Regions from separate parts of the Homo sapiens genome. Here regions 1 and 2 are each linked to region 3. The links are contacts of gene promoters, found by promoter capture Hi-C in blood cells and fetal thymus (Javierre and others, 2016). All regions are on one chromosome and are shown on one strand. Each heading gives the region's core, a stretch centred on a gene start or on the middle of the fragment in contact. The rest is flanking DNA. Distances are from core to core; before and after follow the strand shown. Region 1 holds the start of OR56A1 (olfactory receptor family 56 subfamily A member 1). Region 2 has its middle 15 kb from the start of CAVIN3. Region 3 holds the start of OR52B2 (olfactory receptor family 52 subfamily B member 2).

Region 1 (2,700 bases), core at 121-2,620, 140 kb after region 3:
AAACAGCCGAAAACAAATCTATGTGTGGCGATTATAAACACCTCGTTCTTGACATATCCCAGTACACACTAATCTTACTCATTTAGCTGTATTTTACATCTTGGTGATGCAACTTATTTACTCAAGCTAGTAAACCGGGGGTCACTCTGGGCTTCTCACCTATTTTCTCCTTTAAAACAAATCTGTCAATAAGTTCTGTCTATATGACTTCTGGAAGATTCACCTTCTTCCCATCCTCAGTGCCTCAGCCTTTGTTCAGTTGCACGTCACTTCTCACCTTGGCTATTGCGGCCGCCATTCTTTCTATTTCTGCTCTCTTGCCTTACCCAAGTTCATGCATAATAATGTGTCCAGAGTGATCTTTCTGTACGTACCCTAAATCTGGTCATGTCTCTCTTCTAATGGAAATATTTTTTTCCATTTCTTTTCATCCATATGACTAGTTCTAAAATCTTCAGCATAGAAAATGTACTTAAGATCTGGCTTTTTCTTTTATCAACTCCATTTTTGGCTCTTTCTTTCAACTCCTCATCCTTTTGGCTCCAGTCAGATTAAATATTGCATAGAATTTCCTTCCAAAGTTATTCTCAGACTCATCTCCATGCTTTCACATAATCCATTTTTTATATCTTCAATACACTACACAGATTTAATGCATGTAAATCCTCCACATCTATTGAAATAAAACTCAGCTAAGTTGTTAGCAGCTTTAGGAAAGCTTCTCTTTTCCTCTAGGGTTGAGTTCAGAAATTTTCCTTTGTGCCTTCCTATTATTCTGCTCATATGTCTAATTAACTCACTCTACAAATATTTTTAGCCATTTCATGTCAAGCACTGGGCTAATTGATGTTATTTTCATGGCATGAAATGTCTAATTGGGCATTGGAAGAAGGAGTATGTAAGCAACTTATCATATAAATGTATAACTACAGATGATGAGGATGGTTCAAAGTACTACAGAAACATAAAATAGGAGGACTTGATCTTGTGTAAAGGGGGTTAGAACAAACCTCTCAGAGAAGAGAGTATTTGAATTGAGATGTAAAGGATGAGGAGAAAGTAAGTGTTGTGTAGAAGCATAAGATGCACAGCCTTCCAAGAGAAGTGGGATCAGAAAGCTCATGTAACGTTCGAAGATCTGAAAGGACGGTGTGGCTGAAGCTCAGGGAGCAAGGGAGATGGGGTGTTAGATGGAACTGGAAAATGAGGAAGGAGGTAGATAATATATGGCATTGCCTGCTTTCCTTCCTCCCCTCCCTCCCTTCCTCCTTCCTTTTCCTTCCTTCCTTCCTTTCATAATGTAGTCAGTTAACTATGTGTACCTAGCAATCTATCTATACCCTGTTTATATAGTGATGATAAAAGAAAAACCACACATGGTTTCTTCCCTCATGAACTTATGGTCTCATGAAGTTCAAGTAAAAAATTTCCTTTTTATAATATTAGCAATGAGAAGCCACTGAAATATTTTAATCAGATGACTGGTAATATTTATATTTAAAAACATTTCCTTGATTTCAATGTAGAGAATGGTTTATAAAGAAACCTAGACTGCATTAGGAGGCAATATTTACTTTTTACTCGAGGTAATAGTACTTGGATGGTGAGAGTGGATATGGAGAAGTGGATGGATTCCAGGGCTAATTAAAAGGGAAAATGACATGTCTTAGTGGTTTCATCATGTACTTCGTATCATTTTCAATGGGTAGAATAAATGTTCAAGACATTTTCTGGGCGCTGGCTTCTAAAACTGACAAATATTTACACCAGTCACTGAGATGCTGGCAAAAGACCAGGTTTTTAAATTTTGGACTTGGTGAGCTTTGAATATCTTTGGGAAACCCAGGTTGATACATAAAGTAGGCTTCTGGAGAGGTCTAAGTAAGAAACATAATTCAGTAATTTAGTAATAGAGATGGTAATTGTCTAATGACATAGACAAGATAAAAGAAGTGGAAGAAGGGAAAACAGAATATCAGAGAGGAAAGAAGAAAAGCGAAGAAAATGTAGGACTGAAGCTTTAAACTGACGTCAAGGTAGTGGATGATGGATGTGTTCGAGAAAATGAGAGGGAGTGACCAGGAGGTACAAGGTAAACTAGAAGTCTGTGATATATGAATTAGGCCAAAGAGAGTGTTTCAAGGAAGAGGATTTGATCAACTGTTTCAACAAGATTTAACAATAGGGAAGCTGTAGGTGATTTCTGAGAGCTATTTTGTGGAACTAATGGAGATGGAAGCCAAATTGAAGTGAGTTGTGGAATGGATGTAAGGTGAGGGAATGGAGACAGTGAGTGTAAATGCTTGTGAGAGGTTTGTGCATGAAGGGAAGGGGAGAGTTAGAGAAAGAGCCAGAATTCAAAGCTGGGAGAGATGGGATCAATTCTTGAAGATGGACAGATTATTTATTTTAATGAAAGGAAACAAGAAAAGGATGAGAGTATATACACATTATTTATAAGTCTTACAAAATTTTATATAAATTTATAGGATCAAAGTGCAATTTTGTTCCATGCATAGATTGTATAGTAGTTAAGTCAGGGCTTTTAGGGTATCCATCACCTGAATGATGTACATTATTCTCATTAAGTAATTTCTCATTATCCACCCCCTCTCACCCGCCTCACCCTTCTGAGTCTCCATTGTCAATCATTTCACTCTCTACATCTATATGTACACATTTTGAACACATACTTATGAG
Region 2 (2,700 bases), core at 55-2,554, 130 kb before region 3:
CAACATTTCTATCAAGGGAAGGGCTGAAATCTTGATCTTTTCTCTAAATCAGTGGGTTGGGGGATCTAAGAGAATACTTCAAGCAGACTCATTTTGACGTTTAAGCATTAATTACCCAGCCAGACTGTTAAATACATTGGACTTTATGATAGTGAGAGGTTTGTTCTTCTAATCCTTTTCAACTAGCTGCTAACTTGGCTCTCGACTTCCAAGGTTTATAAACAAGTGAGCCTCAAATATATGGACATGACCATCCACCCTTTATTTCTTCCTGAAATACAGACACAATAAAACCCACACATTTTGCCTAGCAGATTTCAGGTTATACTAATGAGAGGAAAGTAAATAGAAAAAAACAACATTCTAACTCACATTGAACAAAAATCAACTTAAAGCTTACTTGAAGATGGCAGAATACTAAAACTGTAAGGATAATAGAAATACCTAAAACAGGGGAAAAACTTCAAAAACAAGAAGTAACTACAGGCAAAAATTAAAAATAAATATAATAAATTAAAAAGCTTAATAGCATGTTTTAGTCTGTTGTGGTTACTATAAGAAAATACAATAAACTGAGTAGCTTATAAACAACGGAAATTTATTTCTCATACTTCTGGAGACTGGGAAGTCCAAAATCAAGATGCTGGCAGATCCAGCATCTGGTAAGGGTCTGCTCTCTAGTTCACAGATGGTGCTTTTTCTCTATGTCTTCACATGGTAGAAGGGCTGTGGACTCTCTCTTAGGCCTTTCTTATAAGGACATTAATCCCTTTAATTCTCATGATCTAATCTCTAATCACCTCCCAAAGGTGCCACCTTGTAATATCATCACCTTGTCTGTTAAGATTTCAACATATGAGTTTTTGGGGGACACAAACATTCAGATCATAGCACAACTTCAACAAAGAGCAAAGCTACAAAAGCCAAACCCTAGAGGGAATCTCCGCAGTGTGGTAAACACTCACTTAGCAGATTGACTTTTCAGCACTGATTAAAGGAGCAGCCACATATATTCAAATAGAATTATGCTGTACTTTACTGATCCTTGCTCGCTGATTCACAGCGAACTGACCCAGCACTATGCACTCCATCTAAACTAGGTCAATTACCCTCTTTTCTCTAGACCAGTTGTTCTCAACTGCAGGCATACCCTCCACCACCGACCCCAGGGGGGACATTTACCAATGTCTGGAGACACTTTTTAGTGTCACAACTGGCACCTAGTAGACAGACATCGGGGATGTTGTTAAACGTCTTACAATGCACATGATAGTACCTTACAACAAATAATTAGCCTATCCAAAATGTCAATATTGCCAAGATTGGTAAACCTCAACATTTGATTGATGCCTGATGTGACCATTAAACAGACTATTTCTTACATGGGTATCTATAGTTAAGAATTGGTGAAAGATATTCTGCTAGTATGTGATGAAGGGTGAGATGGGGGAGCTTTAAGTTTTACCACTTCTTTTTCTTTTTTTTTTTTTTTAGTTTTACTTATTTTTTAAGTTAGAAGATATTGCCTAGAATTCATAAAAACATTGCAATGATACAGGTTGTAATTCCGGATAAATTGTTTGGTAAAGAGAAAGTTGAGTTTATTATTTTTTTCTTAGTTAGTAATAAACTTATTCTATGCCTCTTTCTCTACAGTACTCAATATAAGAGACTGTGCTGAAGCATTAATGTAACAATATTTATTGTTAGTCAGGATGAATCCCTCACTCACTCTGGAGTCCTGTAATACAGAACAAGCTATTTCTGTTGTGAAGACTCTACAATTCATGCTTCTGCATATGATCCATAATGGAAAAAGATCCAAGTTAATTTAGGATGACCTTCTACCTTGCCAATGATAGCACATCAGACAAACTCCAGGAATGTGTAGAAATATTCTCACAAGGATGTGGTGAAATTTTGTTTTTTGTTTTATTTTCCAAAATACTAGTACTCATTATCAGAACACCTTTCTGTGTCTGTGGTATAATAGAACAGGGTTCTGGAATGTTCCCCCAAAAAGGCACCAGTGAACATATACCATCAGAGCCACCAGCAAAGCAAAATAAAAGGGAGTGAAAGCTTATAAGATTATTTGCAAAGAGTAATTTTTAGGGTAAGACACAAAAGGGTAGGAGTACGTATATATCTGTGTATTTTTCAGAGATATCTTAAAAATTAGTTTTTTAGAGGGTTTAATTTTGTATTTTTAAAAAAATTATAAAAATTTTGTCATTCGTAAGTTATTTACATATATATGCTGCTATCAAATGCACTTGTCACCTGTAGAGAACAACTGATGCCAACACGAAGTTAATAGCAATAGTAAGTGAAAATAGAAAACTGTCACATGGTAGTGTTATTAAGGGGTCTCACCATATCACCATGTCATTAATTTTAATATGGATTTTAATATTTAATATGATACAAATTAGCTTTAACTGTGATTTTCTGCTTTTGATTTAGGTGTGATTAAACAGAAAGGGGGAAGAAACATAGTGTGGATCCGGTGCAGACACACATCATCCCCACAGCGGGAAGTTAAAAAGGGGTTTAATGATGTAGAAAAGGGCATTCAGGTCAGTGCATGCTGACCAGGCTTGTCAGCAGTTTGTCTGAAAGGAACAAGGAGGATTTAAAGTCACAGAGACTCATGTCGGCTTAAGAGTCATGCCTCTCACGAACATCATTGTTATGCAA
Region 3 (2,700 bases), core at 39-2,538:
TTGCATAGAGGCAGAGGGATGGACTAATAAACTGAGGATTTGATTCCTTTGCATCTCTTCTTTGGGGCCCTCTGAATACCATTATCAGAAGATCAGTCTAGTGTTTATTTGGTACCTTTATAGTTCTGATTCTCTCTTTACTGTCTCTGTGGTCCCTTTTCTTCATGTTCCCTTCTAGATTCTTAATCATACACTCTTTCCCTAGTCCTAATAGCTGACAGATAGTTCAGAACTTCAGAATGAAACAAATATTACCTGAGTGGCAGGCAAGCCAAGAAGGGCTCTATACTTAATCCTTCTTGGCAGCAGGGAAACATGGTTCCTTCTGAGCGTTGGGGAACAGTGGGGTGGGAAGAAGGGCAGTATTAGTGGAGTCAGCAGAGTTTACAGGTGGGCAATAGATTGATTTCTTTTGCTCAGAATCGTTTTCCTGGGGGGCTTCTACAGATAAGGAAGCCCAGACATAACCAAGAGGCTCCTGTATAGAAATATTTGAGGAGGAGCATGAGAAGTCCATGAGGAGCTGGTGATGAAAATTGCCTGTCTCAGTTTCATTGGCTGCCCCATTGCTCACTGCATTAGGGAAGATATGAATCTGGATCAGAGTGGAGAAATGTACCCCTCTAGGCTTCCTCTGGATTCCCACTTGATACTCTACTCCCTTGCACAAGGGGCCAGAGGTGCAAGTGTCCTGTGAAATGTTCAAGGCAATAGCCAGATAAACTTAATAGGATTAAATATAACCCAGTTAAAATATAGTTTAGTTAATAGTTTTTTAGGAAGGAGATATATTGCTATGAACACAGACCATTACAAAGTGGTATGTCTTGAGGACTTATTTTAAGGTTAAAATTTTGTTAAACAGAAGTAGAAGGGGAGGGAAATTAAAGGTAAATGCAGAACAAAATCTTGGGGAAAGGGACAAGTACAACACAGGTAGGTGGAAAATGCTGCTTGTGTGGAAATAGTAGAATGAGGTCAGAAAGGGAGAGTGAGGCCAAACTCTGGGGGCAGGGTGGTTGCAGGAAGGTGCTGCCACTTCTGTTCATACTTGAAGCATTATTGCCACAGAAGCTCTATCTGCAAAGGAAGCACTATGGGCCAGAAGCCATTCCTATACCAAGTGAACATTCTCTGGGAGTACTTGCTGCTGGAGAGTCCAGCAATTTAGAAATCCATGCTGTCTTTTATGATATTTATACATATTCGGGAGTGCTTTCTGTTTCTATCACTTTCAGTAGACTCATCAGCTTCTAAGTCATTATAGAGAGGACCATAAAGTGCATCATGAGTCACACCAATGTTACCATCTTCCATCCTGCAGTTTTTGTCCTTCCTGGCATCCCTGGGTTGGAGGCTTATCACATTTGGCTGTCAATACCTCTTTGCCTCATTTACATCACTGCAGTCCTGGGAAACAGCATCCTGATAGTGGTTATTGTCATGGAACGTAACCTTCATGTGCCCATGTATTTCTTCCTCTCAATGCTGGCCGTCATGGACATCCTGCTGTCTACCACCACTGTGCCCAAGGCCCTAGCCATCTTTTGGCTTCAAGCACATAACATTGCTTTTGATGCCTGTGTCACCCAAGGCTTCTTTGTCCATATGATGTTTGTGGGGGAGTCAGCTATCCTGTTAGCCATGGCCTTTGATCGCTTTGTGGCCATTTGTGCCCCACTGAGATATACAACAGTGCTAACATGGCCTGTTGTGGGGAGGATTGCTCTGGCCGTCATCACCCGAAGCTTCTGCATCATCTTCCCAGTCATATTCTTGCTGAAGCGGCTGCCCTTCTGCCTAACCAACATTGTTCCTCACTCCTACTGTGAGCATATTGGAGTGGCTCGTTTAGCCTGTGCTGACATCACTGTTAACATTTGGTATGGCTTCTCAGTGCCCATTGTCATGGTCATCTTGGATGTTATCCTCATCGCTGTGTCTTACTCACTGATCCTCCGAGCAGTGTTTCGTTTGCCCTCCCAGGATGCTCGGCACAAGGCCCTCAGCACTTGTGGCTCCCACCTCTGTGTCATCCTTATGTTTTATGTTCCATCCTTCTTTACCTTATTGACCCATCATTTTGGGCGTAATATTCCTCAACATGTCCATATCTTGCTGGCCAATCTTTATGTGGCAGTGCCACCAATGCTGAACCCCATTGTCTATGGTGTGAAGACTAAGCAGATACGTGAGGGTGTAGCCCACCGGTTCTTTGACATCAAGACTTGGTGCTGTACCTCCCCTCTGGGCTCATGAATCTTCATGTCCAGCTCCTTCAAGGAAGCTAGATGTGAAATACAGAGATTTCCTGGACTGAGAAGGCTTTTCTTCCTCTTCTTTCTATTTCATCTTCCGCCCCCAACTTTTCTTTCTTTTCTCATAATTCTTCCTCCTTCTCTTGTTTGTTTTCTCTAACCTCTTTACATATTCCTCCCTACAACCCAGAAATAATAACTAAGTGTACATGCCTCTGATATGAGGCTTTGGTACCCTCAGTAGACTAGATAGACGCCAGAAGCGCAGGGATCTGAACACCACATGAAATGAGGTTATAAAGAAGTGGATAAAAATAATTTTATATTTACCATTTTAAGGGGTTTTAATTTTTTAAAAAAATCCCAAATGTGCATTGATTCTTTGTACAGAATCAAGTGGCCTGCCACCCACTACCACAATGGCAGGTGAGTTTGAGGAACA

The links. Contacts are between HindIII fragments. The CHiCAGO score rates a contact against its expected background, and 5 or more counts as called.
Region 1: a fragment that was not itself captured here is called in contact with the fragment with the promoter of OR52B2 in region 3 in 4 of 17 cell types (M1 macrophages, M0 macrophages, M2 macrophages and 1 more); the score reaches 8.5 in M1 macrophages.
Region 2: a fragment that was not itself captured here is called in contact with the fragment with the promoter of OR52B2 in region 3 in 1 of 17 cell types (monocytes); the score reaches 5.6 in monocytes.

The regions. Positions count from the first base shown.
Region 1 is chr11:6,029,061-6,031,760 of GRCh38, reverse strand. OR56A1 (olfactory receptor family 56 subfamily A member 1) reads left to right here and starts at 1,003. Exons shown (of 2, transcript NM_001388488.1): 1 at 1,003-1,059. All of the region lies in intron 1 of LOC107984303 (a long non-coding RNA gene), which reads right to left. The HindIII fragment of the contact is 1,300 bases long and covers 721-2,020 here.
Region 2 is chr11:6,303,808-6,306,507 of GRCh38, reverse strand. No RefSeq gene overlaps it. Among named protein-coding and RNA genes, the nearest start is that of CAVIN3, 15 kb to the left of the region's middle. RefSeq lists an enhancer at 2,249-2,700. The HindIII fragment of the contact is 1,561 bases long and covers 524-2,084 here.
Region 3 is chr11:6,168,914-6,171,613 of GRCh38, reverse strand. It overlaps OR52B2 (olfactory receptor family 52 subfamily B member 2), which reads left to right and starts at 1,288. Exons shown (of 1, transcript NM_001004052.1): 1 at 1,288-2,259. The coding sequence starts at 1,288. The coding sequence ends at 2,259. The HindIII fragment of the contact is 5,039 bases long and covers 1-1,750 here.